Regions from separate parts of the Homo sapiens genome. Here region 2 is linked to region 1. Evidence: promoter capture Hi-C in 16 types of primary human blood cells and fetal thymus (Javierre and others, 2016). All regions are on one chromosome and are shown on one strand. The core of a region is centred on a gene start or on the middle of the fragment in contact, and the rest is flanking DNA. Distances in the headings are between cores, read along the strand shown. Region 1 holds the start of FLNB (filamin B). Region 2 overlaps DNASE1L3 (deoxyribonuclease 1L3).

Region 1 (6,600 bases), core at 3,057-5,556:
AACACAATGAGGAAAACACAAGAGGCAAACTGATCCCACTTAATTCCCGGCTGACTCTCAACTTGTGAGACCTTCATCACAGCCCAGAGGATTCATCCTGCCAATCATGGAAGGCCCTGACATCCCTATTTTGTCCAAGGTCAGAGGTTCAGAGTGTGGGTATCCAGCCACCACCCTAACACCTAAGACTTGCAAACCTAGTGTTGCAGGGACCCTCTGATGTGGAGAGAAAAGCTGTATTTTACTCATCTCTGAAACTGGAAGGCAAGTCAGTTAAGGCTCCAATTCAACAGCTGGGCAGACCTGGGTTTCAGACACCATTTACTAGCTAGCTGGGTCACCTCCACAAGTGGCTTCACTCCTGTTTCCCATCTTTAAATAAAGATAATAATACTAACCATGGCAAGAGTATGATCAACCAAACAGAAACAAACAACCAGGCTGTTCTCCCCTAATTTTGAACGTCCCTTCGGTGTGCAAACCATTCGGGCATGACTTTTTTTTTTTTTTTTTTTTTTGAGTCAGAGTCTCGCTCTCCCAGGCTGGAGTGCAGTTACACAAAGACCTCGGCTCACTGCAACCTCCACCTCCCGGGTTCAAGCAATTCTCCTGCCTCAGCCTCCCGAGTAGCTGGGACTACAGGTGTGCACCACCATGCCCAGCTAATTTTTGTATTTTTAGTAGAGCTAGGGTTTCACCATGTTGTCCAGGCTGGTCTCGAACTCCTGACCTCAGGTGATCCACCCACCTTGGCCTCCTAAAGTGCTGGGATTACAGGCGTGAGCCACGGCATCCAGCCCTGGCATTACTTTTGAGATAATTATTAGACAGCACCTTATTTAATTAACAGGCGCCATTTTCTAAGCAACACATGCCCAGGACAGTGTTAAGCCCTGAACTCTCTAAGTGACTTGCAGAAGCAGATCATTAGAGATAGGGCAGTAGTTGCTGTCAATCAATGATTAGCATGAAAATTCAATGGGGTGATCAACAGAACACACTTAACACCCAGTAGGTGCCCCCAAATTGAAGCTAGTGTCATTGTCAGCACAATGTAACACAACCTAAGCAGTGAATATATGAACCTTAGTCCAAGCTGGAGGTAACTTTGCCTTGAAGGATGAAGGACCATTACCCACAACAGCCTCAAGAGCTTAGGGAAGAAGCCTCCTGCTTTATCCCCACAGCAGTCCTGGCACTTGCCAGGGCTCTCTGTGGTCTCCAGAGGCTGGAAAACCTGTTTGTTGCAAGATCTCTCGGGAGAGCAATTAGGCAGCCAATGATACAAGTCATAAATGTGGTCACACCCTTTAACCCAGGAATGTCACTCTGGGGAATATGATCCAAGAAATCATTAAAAAGGAAAAAAATAGAATGCAAGTTGTGGTAGGAACAGGAAGAAGCTGCCAACAGCCCACAGGCCCAGCACAGAGGAAGGGAAGCTAACTAACCCTGGAACGTCGGGACAATGGGAGTAGCTAGGGCCTGAGTGGATTCGAAAATAAAAGGAGGACCGGGCTGGGCGCGGTGGCTCAGGGCTGTAACCCCCGCACTTGGGAGGCCGAGGCGGGCATATCATGAGGTCAAGAGTTCGAGACCAGCCTGGCCAACATGGTGAAACCCCATCTCTACTAAGAATACAAAAATTAGCCGGGCGTGGTGGCATGTGCCTGTAATTCTAGCTACTCAGGAGGCTGAGGCAGAAGAATCGCTTGAACCCGGGAGGTGGAGGTTGCAGTGAGCAGAGATGGCACCATTGTACTCCAGCCTGGAGACAGAGCAAGGCTCCATCTCCAGGCGGGGCGGTGGTGGGGAGGGGGAGCAGGGAATCAGGAGAACCATGTAAAAAAATGTAGACAAAATCTAGAATGAGACCCACAGCCCCGGGCACTGATGAGAGACAGTGCTGGAAGTAGCTGCTGCCTCTGTAAACAGTGGGTAGATCAGGCAGTCTGTGATTTGCTAGTGCTGCGGTTTGGTTTGGTTTTGTTGTTGTTTTAGAGATTTCATGTCGTATTTGGATACTTCTGGTTTACTTTAAGTTTCTTTATTCAGTTAATTAAATAAATACACATTTTTAAAACAAAGAACAGATCCAAATTGAGCCCAGCTGGGCCTTGGGATTCTTCAGAGGGGAGGCTGGTTTCTGAATGGTAAAGAATTCCAGGAGATTCTGAGGTTCTCCCTCCCCAGTACAGGAGATGGACCCCAGAAAGAAGACAACAGCGTGCCATGCAGATTCTTCTGCAGGGAAGCCACCCTTGGGGAGGGGGAGGGCTGCTGGAGATCAGCTGGGTGGTGCGGCTGCCATCTGGGCCCAGGAAGCAGGAAGCAGCCTTACCTGCCAGGACAGGTGTGGGGGAAGGGAAGGGTGAGGCCCTAAGGCCCAGGGGAGGCTCAGCCTAGAGGGAATCCCTTTTCCACTGGAGAAAGTCCTGGCAGCCACACCCATCTCCCTTTCTTCCTGTCACTAGGGTCACTATAGTGACCTGGTTTCCTCAGGAAGAGACCCAAATCACAGGCCAGGGCCAGTCCCTGGTTCTCCTTAGGAAGAGATCCAGACCCAGAACCCTCCTCTGCCCCAACCCACACCCACCCACCCACATACACACACACACATACACACACCCATACACACGTGTAGGTGGATACACATTCTCTGCATACATTCCGTGTACATGCAAACTCTTTGCATATGCACATGCTATACACACATGCTATGTGTGTACACACGTTCTCTGCACAAACGCCCACATGCACACACACATCACAGCCCCTACCATCACAGCCCACACTATCAGTAGCCTTGTGGCCCTCTGGGAAGCCTCCAACTATCTCAGACCACAAGGGAGACTTCATCCTTATTCTTCCTCCCCAGACCAGAAGGCCCAGTCCAGCAAGAGACACCAATTCCCTCCCTCCTTTCAGGAAGACCCTGGTGTAGGTTTGGGAGAGGAGAGGAAAACAAAGCCTCCTTCTAACTGTTGCCCACTTCCTTCAGTTCTCAGCTGGGCCCTACTTGCTGACCTTGGACAGGTCAATTAACCCTCCGGACCCCCTTATCTGTAAAATGGGTCTAGCCTCACCCCAGATGGCAGGATGCGTAGGGACGGAGATAACTTAGAAGGCTGACGGTACACAGTGGACGCTAGTTGGGCTCCCTACAAGACAGCAATTACTGTTACCACCACCATCTCTAAATTATAACTTCGGCAGCAAGGAGTGGGTTCAACCTGCGGCGCGCGGCCAGAGCTGAGCTGGGAGCAGAGAGAGCGAGGACACACACCCGCGCCTACCCTTGCAACCTCGGGGCCCACACCCATTCCAGCGACGGCAGGGGAAGGTACCAGGTCTCTGTCTCCACCTGGGCAGGGAGGCCCCAGGCGCAGAGAACGGTTCCTCCTCAGGTCTCACGGCCCGGCCTCCGAGCCAACGCCCATTCAGCTGCCTCTGAGAGCACCAACCTGGGCGCAGCAGGGAGAGCACTCCGCGGAGCATCTGACCCTAGGGCCCGCCCCCGGGGACAGCGAACGAGGGTTTCTAGTCCCCTAGCTCCCATAGGGGCGCCCCAGGTGTAGAGAAATGCAACAACTCCACCTCTCCTCCTGTGACCCCAGCCCAAACCCTCAACCCTTAGCCAGCCAAAGGTGCACTGCTGGGGCGGATGGCGGGGAGCGATCACAACAGGTCCCATCCCAGGGGAAGACACCGGGGAGGGGGTCTAGGCCCCCTATAACCCACCCCTGGGGACGACTCCCCCTTATCTCCGAGGTGGGGGCGCGCTGCGGGAAATCCTCGCCCTCCGCAGGGGTGCACGCGCGGGGGCGGGTCGGCACCACAGTGGGCGCCTGGGCCCGGCCAGAGAACTCACCGATGGACACGAGCTTGATGCTCTCACGGTCCAGGAACTCGAGCGCCACGGACACATTCTCGAGCTGCATCTGGCGAAAGGTGGGCCGCTGATGGTACTTGCGGTACATGCGCTTCTGGCTGAGCACCTCGAGCAGCGCGATGAGCCGCAGCCCGTCGCTCAGGTCGGTCTGCAGGTTGCCGATGCGTTTGTTCACGCACTTGAGGTGCTCGTTGCACCAGCGTGTGAACGTGTTCTGCTGGATCTTCTTCCAAGGCGCGTCCTCAGCTAGATCCTTCTCGGTTACCGGCATCCTGGTGGCGGGGAGAGCGCAATGCGCAACGAGCTGCCGGGGACTGGTGTTTGGAGGCCCAAGGGCCGAAGGAGCGAGAACCGAAGCGGAGCGGGAGCGGGGTTCGAACTTGCTGCTACCGGAGCCACGGCCGGTGCTGCTCTGCGGCCGCCCGCCCCTGGCCGCGCGAGGCGCCTGGCCCCGCGCCTGCGCGCTGAGCCGCCCCGCCCCCAAGCCCCGCCCCGTCCCGACCCTCCCGCGGGAGTTCCTGGGCCACGCTCGCCTCCTGCCGCCTGCCGCAGGCACTGCGCCCCACTGCGTCCTGGGACCCGCGCTCGAAGCCCACCACCCCAGCAGGATGTAGGGCTGCCTGAATCACCCGGTCAGCCCCGGGGTGGGGGGACCCGCGGGGGCTGGGAGCCGGACAGAATGGGTCGGGCCTCAGTGGGACTTGCGGGAGGGGCGCGCGGGGCGGAGGTCTTCATCCACATATAGATTGAATAAAATTCAGTAAGGGCTTTTATTGAGCTCCGCCTGTGTACCAGCCATTCTTCTCAGAGCCTGCTAACCAGTAGTAAATCAGACAAACGTATTGCACAACCTCAAGGAGTTCACACAGCCTAATGGAAGAGAAAAGTGTAATTCCACCATAACCAACAGCCCAGTAGTGGTGGTAAAAATGAACAATAAGGCTTGTTGCATGTCTTAGTTTCCAGTTACTGCTGTAACAAGTTACCAAAACTTAGTGTCTTTGAAAACACACACCCACAAATGTATTATCCTTCAGTTCTGTAGGTTCGATGGCCCACACAGGTCTTGCTGAGCTAAAAACAAAGTGTTGGCAGGATGCATTCCCTTCTGGAGGCTGTAGGGAAGAATCTGTTTCCTTGTGTTTTCTAACTTCCAGAAGCTGCCTGCGCGCCTGACTCCTGCCCCTTTTCTCTGTGAAAGCCTGCAATGGGCTGGGCACAATGGCTCACACCTGTAATCCCAGCACTTTGGGAGGCCAAGGTGGGTGGATCACCTGAGGTCAGGAGTTCGAGACCAGCCTGGCCAACATGGTAAAACCCCATCTCTACTTAAAATACAAAAATTAGCCAGGTGTGGTGGCGCGTACCTGTAATCCCAGCTACTGGGAAGGCTGAGATAGGAGAATCGCTTGAACCTGGGAGGCAGAGGTTACAGTGAGCTGAGATGGTGCCATTGCACTCCAGCCTGGGCGACAGAGCAAAACTCCGTCTCAAAAAAAAAAAAAAAAAAAAAAAAAACAGAAAAGCAAGCCTGCAATGTCAGGTGGAGTCTCTCAGACCTCAGACAGTCCTCTCTCCATAGGCACATCTTCCTTTTTTTTTTTTTTCCTGCGATGGAGTCTTACTCCGTTGCCCAGGCTAGAGTCCAGTGGTGCAATCTCGGCTCACTGCAACCTCCTCCTCCTGGGTTCAAGCAATTCTCTTGCCTCAACCTCCTGAGTGGCTGGGATTACAGGCACCCGCCACCACGCTCCGCTAATTTTTGTATTTTTAATAGAGACGGGCTTTCACCATGTTGGCCAGGCTGGTCTTGAACTCCTGACCTCAAGCGATCCACCAGCCTCTGCCTCCCAAAGTGATGGGATTACAGGCATGAGCCACCTTGCCCAGCCTTTTTTTTGTCTCACTCCGTCTCCCAAACTGGAGTGCTATGACTCAATCTCGGCTCCCTGCAGCTTCAACCTCCCCACACCTGGCCCTTTTAAGGACTCTTAAGATGACATTGGGCCAGCTGGTTAGTCCAACATGATCTCCCTATTTTAAAATCAGCCGATTAAGAACCCTAATCCTGTTTGCAACCTTAATTCCCCTTTGCCATTTAAGGGAATGTTCACAGGTCCTGAGAGTTAGGATGTGAACGTCTTTGGGGGCTATTACTCTGCCTACCACAGCATACATTGAGCACTTACTCTGTACTCATCCAGGTTCTGTGCTAGGTTCTGAGATATGGCAGAGTCTCAGGCCAGCCCTCTGTTGATAAAAGCCTGAATAATTACAACAGCAAGCATTGAATGAACACCTGCTGTTCCTCTGTGCCAAGCACAGTGCAAAGCAATTTCTTTCAAGTCGGGTGCAGTGGCTCACACCTGTAATCCCAGCACCTTGGGAGGCCAAGGTGGGCAGATCACCTGAGGTCAGGAGTTCGAGACCAGCCTGACCAACATGAAAAAACCCTAGCTCTACTAAAAATACAAAAAATTAGCTGGGCGTGGTGGCGCATGCCTGTAATCCCAGCTACTTGGGAGGCTGAGGCAGGAGAATCGCTTGAACCCAGGAGGCAGAGGTTGTGGTGAGCCAAGATTGCACTCCAGCCTGGGCAATAACAGTGAAACTCTGTCTCAAAAAAAAAAAAAGAAGAAATAACCGAGTGGTTGAGCGGCTTGCCCAGGCCACACAGCACAGTTAGAACCATAATGCAAGTCTGTAAG
Region 2 (6,132 bases), core at 142-2,641, 190 kb before region 1:
AGCAGAGGTAAGCACTGGCTTCGCTATCAGATAGGCCTGGATTTAAATCCTGACATTATCACTTCATATGTCTGTGACCAAGAGACAAGCTCTCTGTGTCTTTCATTTCCTCCCCTGTAAAATGGAAGTTATCCTAGTGCCTCACTCATGAAGATCCGATGTGGAGTAAATGAAATAACATGTCAGGCTGCTAGCACAATGCCTGGCATACGGCAAGTGCTCATTACATTCATGGGCTGATCATTGTTCCATCACAAAGACTTACCGCAATTGATGCGCCCAATCCCCATCATTAGGCATTGGGTTATTACCAAGGGTTTGCTGTTATAAATACTGCTAAAATCAATATCCTCTGTGCATTTTGTGCAAGTATTTATGATTTCCTCAGGAAGCAACCCTAAAAATGAGACCAATTAGTGCAACGGTATTTATATTTTTAAAGCTTTAGCTACATATTCCTAAATGCAATGCATACATTTAAGTCCTAGCATTCCCTCGTGCTTTTTAAAGTCCCTTCAGGGATTTTCAAACAGCTTTCATCTTTGCTCCTTCAATGGGGACAGAGGGGGGAGTGCCTGAGGCGTGTGAATGTTAGTGATCTTCCATCACAGAGACCACAGGTGGGGAAACCCCTAGGAGCCTGGTCCCAGGTGGTGGCCACAGTTCCCAGAGCTCAGCCTGCCACGAGGAAGTGTGAGATGGCCATCTGCATGAGAGCCACCAGGCCACTCGTTTTCACTTCCTCTCGGAGTTTTTTTTTTTTTTTTTTTTTTTTTTAGACAGAGTCTCGCTCTGTTGCCCAGGCTGGAGTGCAGTGGTGCGATCTCGGCTCACTGCAAGCTCCGCCTCCCGGGTTCACGCCATTCTCCTGCCTCAGCCTCCCGAGTAGCTGGGACTACAGGCGCCCGCCACCACGCCTGGCTAATTTTTTTTTTTTTTTGTATTTTTAGTAGAGACAGGGTTTCACCATGTTACCCAGGATGGTCTTGATTTCTTGACCTCGTGATCCGCCCGCCTCGGCCTCCCAAAGTGCTGGGATTACAGGCGTGAGCCACCATGCCCGGCCTGTTCCTCTTGGAGCTTTTGAGGCTGGTGTTTCCTTTGCAGAAGTTATCACTCTGCAAAGTGGGAACCCAAGGCGGGGAGTTACAGGGGTCTAAGTGCCCAGACCCCCTATTTTGAAGGACTTCCAGCAAAGCCTGGACGATGGCCACTCACTCAGTTACACATGGCAGTTGTGTGCCCGTGGGTAGGTCAAGTCCCTTCTCCAGCGCCATTCTTCTCCCCTGGCAAATGAGTGGGAAGTGATTGAAAATGATACAGAAGAATCAGAAGGCAACATGGCCACAGTAGATCAGGTCAGGGGTAGAACAGGTTAGAAAAAGATGTTTACTAAAAGGATCCTGATTTTATACACATGTATCCCAAAGGATGGTGGGATTACATGTGACATTTTAAAGATTCATTTCTTATTTTGATGCTCTGAATTTTGTTTCTCATAACAACATGTATAACTCTTGTGCCTCTTTTTTTTCTTTTTTTTGAGACAGAGTCCTGCTCTGTCGCCCAGGCTGGAGTGCAGTGGCAGGATCTTGGCTCACTGCAACCTCCGCCTCCCGGGTTCAAGCGATTTTCCTGCCTCAGCCTCCCAAGTAGCTGGGATTACAGGCATACACAAACATGCCCCGCTTTTTTTTTTTTTTTTTTTTTTTTTTGTAATTTTAGTAGAGATGGGGTTTCGCCATGTTGGCCAGGCTGGTCTTGAACTCGTGACCTCAGGTGATCCGCCTGCTTTGGCCTCCCAAAGTGCTTGGATTACAGGTGTGAGCCACCATGCCCGGCCTCTTGTGGCTTTTAAAAAGTCATAGGCCAGTTGTGGTGGCATATGCTGTAATCCCAGCTACTTGGGAGGCTGAGGCAGGAGGATCACTTGAGCCCAGGAGTTCAAGGCTTTAGAGCAACATGATCACATGCCTGTGAATAGCCACGGCACTCCAGCCTGGACAACATAGTGAGACCTGTCTCAATACAATAAAATAAAAAGTAAAATTAAATAAAATAAACGGAGAAAATGAAAAGCCATAAAAATGATGTTTTAAAAATGTAATTAGACAAGATGGTCTCAGTTCCAGTCTTTGTTCCATGTTCACATATTTATCAAACACCTCTCATGTGCTGAGTGCTGGGGGAACATGCAAAGATGCCCAGGATCTGGCTGGTGCCCTGGACTGAAAACGTCACATGAACACTGGCCTGGTCCTGCACATCCCTAGAAGAAGTCAGAAATGGAAGAGCCTTTAACATGTCATTCTTTGCTTTCTGAGTCTTAAAGAAAGCTTTCACAAATGTCTAACTTGATGCGAAGAATTTACATTTGGGTTGAATTAAAAGCCGTAGCCCGGGCCGGGCGTGGTGGCTCACACCTGTAATCCCAGCACTTTGGGAGGCTGCGGCCGGTGGATCACGAGGTCAGGAGATCGAGACCATCCTGGCTAACACAGTGAAACCCCGTCTCTACTAAAAAATACAAAAAAAATTAGCCAGGCGTGGTGCCGGGCACCTGTAGTCCCAGCTACTCGGGAGGCTGAGGCAGGAGAATGGCATGAACCCAGGAGGCAGAGCTTGCAGTGAGCCGAGATTGCGCCACTGCACTCTAGCCTGGGTGACACAGAGAGACTCCGTCTCAAAAAAAGAAAAAAAAAAGCCGTAGCCCTGGAGCGGTGGCTTACACCGGTAATCCCAGCACTTTGGGAGGTTGAGGTGGGCGGATCACCTAAGGTCACGAGTTCAAGACCAGCCTGGCCAACAGGGATAAACCCCGTCTCTACTAAAAATACAAAAATTAGCCAGGCGTGGTGGCACACACCTATAATTCCAGCTACTTGGGAGGCTGAGGCAGGAGAATCGCTTCAACCCGGAAGGTGGAGGTTGCAGTGAGCTGAGATGGCGCACTGCACTCCAACCTGGGTGACAGAGCATGACTGTGTCTCAAAAAAAAAAAAAAAAAAAAAAAAGTTAGTTGTGCTGGTGATGTTAGCAAATGCAGATACCAAAACTGTTGATTAGAATGGGGAAGGCCCACTGGTCACTCATGAAATGGCAGTTTGACTCACCTTGCCATTCCTCGGGAAGTCACTCAGGACCACGTAGACCACAACTGCATCACCCAACTTGGGATATGTTAGTTTGTTTCCAAAACTCATTTGACTACCTCATTCTTACTTTTTGTCATTATTGCAAAGCACATATGCTGTGATTTTTCTCGATATTTTCCATTAAATCGCTTAATTTCTTGCTGAAATAAATTTTTAAAAGAAATTTCATGATACTAGCATGAGTAAGAAAGCAGCAGCATTTGCCATAAATTGAAGGTAACGTAAAAATTAAGTCCAGTGAAAATCACGCCTTGTTAAATTCTGCCTTAATTCTCTTGCCTGCAGAATGCTCGGAGATGGCAGCCTACTCTCTGTCAACACGGGACTGAGGGAGGTATTAAAGACAAACCAGCACCTCCCTGAGAATTTCTCCATAATCAAATCAGGGAAAGTGAAAAATAATTGAAAAAGGAACAGCGTTCTCAGTACGCAAGTCATTGTTGTGTGGGATAGTGTGCGTGTGTCATATAAAATCTTCTCCTACTCCACCAGAACATTGCCCACACTGGGAGACAGTGTCCTGGTGTCCACAGAACCATGGCAGGGACTGATCCTATTTCACAGTTGTAGGCACTGTCCTTTGGGGTCACAGGCTAAAACCAGCTCTGGACTTTGAGCGCCACATGAAAGGGCCAGACTGCTCGGTTAATTCCAGACAGCAAACACAGACCTTGGTTTGATCTCAGCAATCACAGGTTGGATTAACACAACTGTTTTCCCTCCCCTTGTTCCAGGATTGTGCTTAGAGGACAAGAAATCGTCAGTTCTGTTGTTCCCAAGTCAAACAGTGTTTTTGACTTCCAGAAAGCTTACAAGCTGACTGAAGAGGAGGTAAGGTTGCCATCTTGTCTTTCTATGCCATTGTCCTGGAAAGATGAGTTAGCTTGGGCAACATGATGAGACTCCATCTCTATGAAAAATTCAAAAAAATTAGCTGGGCATGGTGATGCATGCCTATGGTCCCAGCTACTTGGGAGGCTGAGGTGGGAGGATCACTTGAGTCCAGGAAGCGGAGGTTGCAGTGAGCCAAGATCGCACCACTGCACTCCAGGCTGGGCAACAGAGTGAGATCCTGTCTCAAAAAAAAAAAAAAAAAAAGATGGGTTGATGCCACCCTTTGAGGTCACCACTGAAGACACAACATTGGGCACTAGACCTTGACCCTCAATGCCTATGATTCTGTGATTTGAGGCCCCTCCAAAATTTCTGATCGAGCTGGTCTTGGAATGACGCTTACCAGTAAGTGTTCTGTGGGGTGACTTCGGGCATTTCCTCTCCCCTCCCTGGTCCTAAATTTGCTCATCGCTAAAATGAAAGCATCTCCCAGGCATCTCCTAATTTCCATGTCTACCTCCCCTTTCTCCTTATAGGCCCTGGATGTCAGCGACCACTTTCCAGTTGAATTTAAACTACAGTCTTCAAGGGCCTTCACCAACAGCAAAAAATCTGTCACTCTAAGGAAGAAAACAAAGAGCAAACGCTCCTAGACCCAAGGGTCTCATCTTATTAACCATTTCTTGCCTCTAAATAAAATGTCTCTAACAGATATGAACTGCTCCCTGTACTTAGGAAACAAGAGTGATCCAACTGCTTTCATTTTTTGACCTGAATTTATTCTGACTTGAGCCAAATTGGAAGGAGAATCTTTTGTATCTCTCTTGGTCTCATACCTCCCCTGAATTGTCTAAAAGGGAACCAGGGGCATTTGTAGACCAAAATGATGATCTTCATGCCCTGAGCCAGAGCCCCATCCACTGTCACTGGCCCTGCTCAACCCTGTCATGCGAGAGGCTGCAGGGGGAGGAAGAGCGTCAGCTTTCAGTCCTCATGAGGGGTCCTGTTCCACACGCAATGACCAGAAACACCAAGGCCCCAGCTGCCCCTGTGATTTGGGCAATTAACTGTTTTAAGAGTCTGCCCCCTCCTCTCTGAGGTCAGGCCACCATCACGTCTCACAGTGTTGAGGGATAAAGGCCACTCCCACCTGGTTTCTCTGCCTTCGAATTGTCCTCCAACTCAGCCAGCCCAGGAAGCATCAGTGTCATCCTCTGAAATACTAATCTGACCACAGCCCACCCTCAGTCCCACCCTCAGTCCCACCCTCTGCCCATAAATCCTTCAGCGGCTCCCATCACCATGGGAGAGAGCTCAGTCTTGGCCACCATGAAGGTCTCTGCTATCTGGCTTATTGCGCCAGCCCCACCTTCTGCCAGGGTCCCACCCTGAACCCCTGCTCCAGGAGGATGTCCTCCGCCCTGCATACCCCATGCTCTCCCTCCCTGGGGGCCTTGGCTCTGCCCCCCCCATGCCCTGCCCTATTCCAGAGCCCGGGCCAAGTGCCCCCAGCCCTCATGTGCGCCCTACCTCTATTGCAACATCCACCACATTATATTTGTCACCAAGGTCAGTGTTGGAGGTCTTTGGGGCCCCAGTGTGACAAACACCTAGTGGGCTGGCTGGGACTCGAGGATTTTGTTATCTTTCTGCAATCAAGGAGGCTCATTGGAGTCCAACAACACAGCACCATTTAGCCTGTATCCAAGGTGCCCATTTTTGTTTGTTTTGCTTTGTTTTCCCTGATGTTTCTTTGTTCAAGTCATACACGAACATGGCTAAATGTGTGAACAGTACCGAAGAATAAGCAGGGAAAAGGAATGCCGTGCCCTGACCCCATCCCCGAGTTTCCTGTCTCAGAAACAGCCCCTCTTCCCAGCTCATGTGTTTTTCCAGAGAGTCTGCACAGAAATGAGCACTATATGTAACCTTAAAAATACAAAATATAGCACACCATATGCATGGTTCCACTCTTCGCTTTTTTCCTTTAATATATTGGGGATGATGTGACTTTTGATGTAGGAGAAAAAGACCTTAAGTCTGACACTTGAAATTATGTAACATCTGACTGGGGGAATAAAATCAAAAGGGCCCTGGTTAAGCACGGGAAGCCATCTTCCTCAAATGTCCAATTAACCTCATT

What was found. The method cuts DNA at HindIII sites, captures the fragments that hold promoters and counts their contacts. A CHiCAGO score of 5 or more calls a contact.
Region 2: a fragment that was not itself captured here is called in contact with the fragment with the promoter of FLNB in region 1 in 4 of 17 cell types (naive CD4 T cells, fetal thymus, megakaryocytes and 1 more); the score reaches 6.0 in naive CD4 T cells.

Annotation. Positions count from the first base shown.
Region 1 is chr3:58,006,128-58,012,727 of GRCh38, reverse strand. It overlaps FLNB (filamin B), which reads right to left and starts at 4,306. Exons shown (of 46, transcript NM_001457.4): 1 at 3,872-4,306. The coding sequence starts at 4,163. The HindIII fragment of the contact is 11,042 bases long and covers 1-6,600 here.
Region 2 is chr3:58,191,197-58,197,328 of GRCh38, reverse strand. It overlaps DNASE1L3 (deoxyribonuclease 1L3), which reads left to right. Exons shown (of 8, transcript NM_004944.4): 7 at 3,890-3,986; 8 at 4,526-5,072. The coding sequence ends at 4,642. Among named protein-coding and RNA genes, the nearest start is that of DNASE1L3, 17 kb to the left of the region's middle. RefSeq lists an enhancer at 580-759. The HindIII fragment of the contact is 1,894 bases long and covers 445-2,338 here.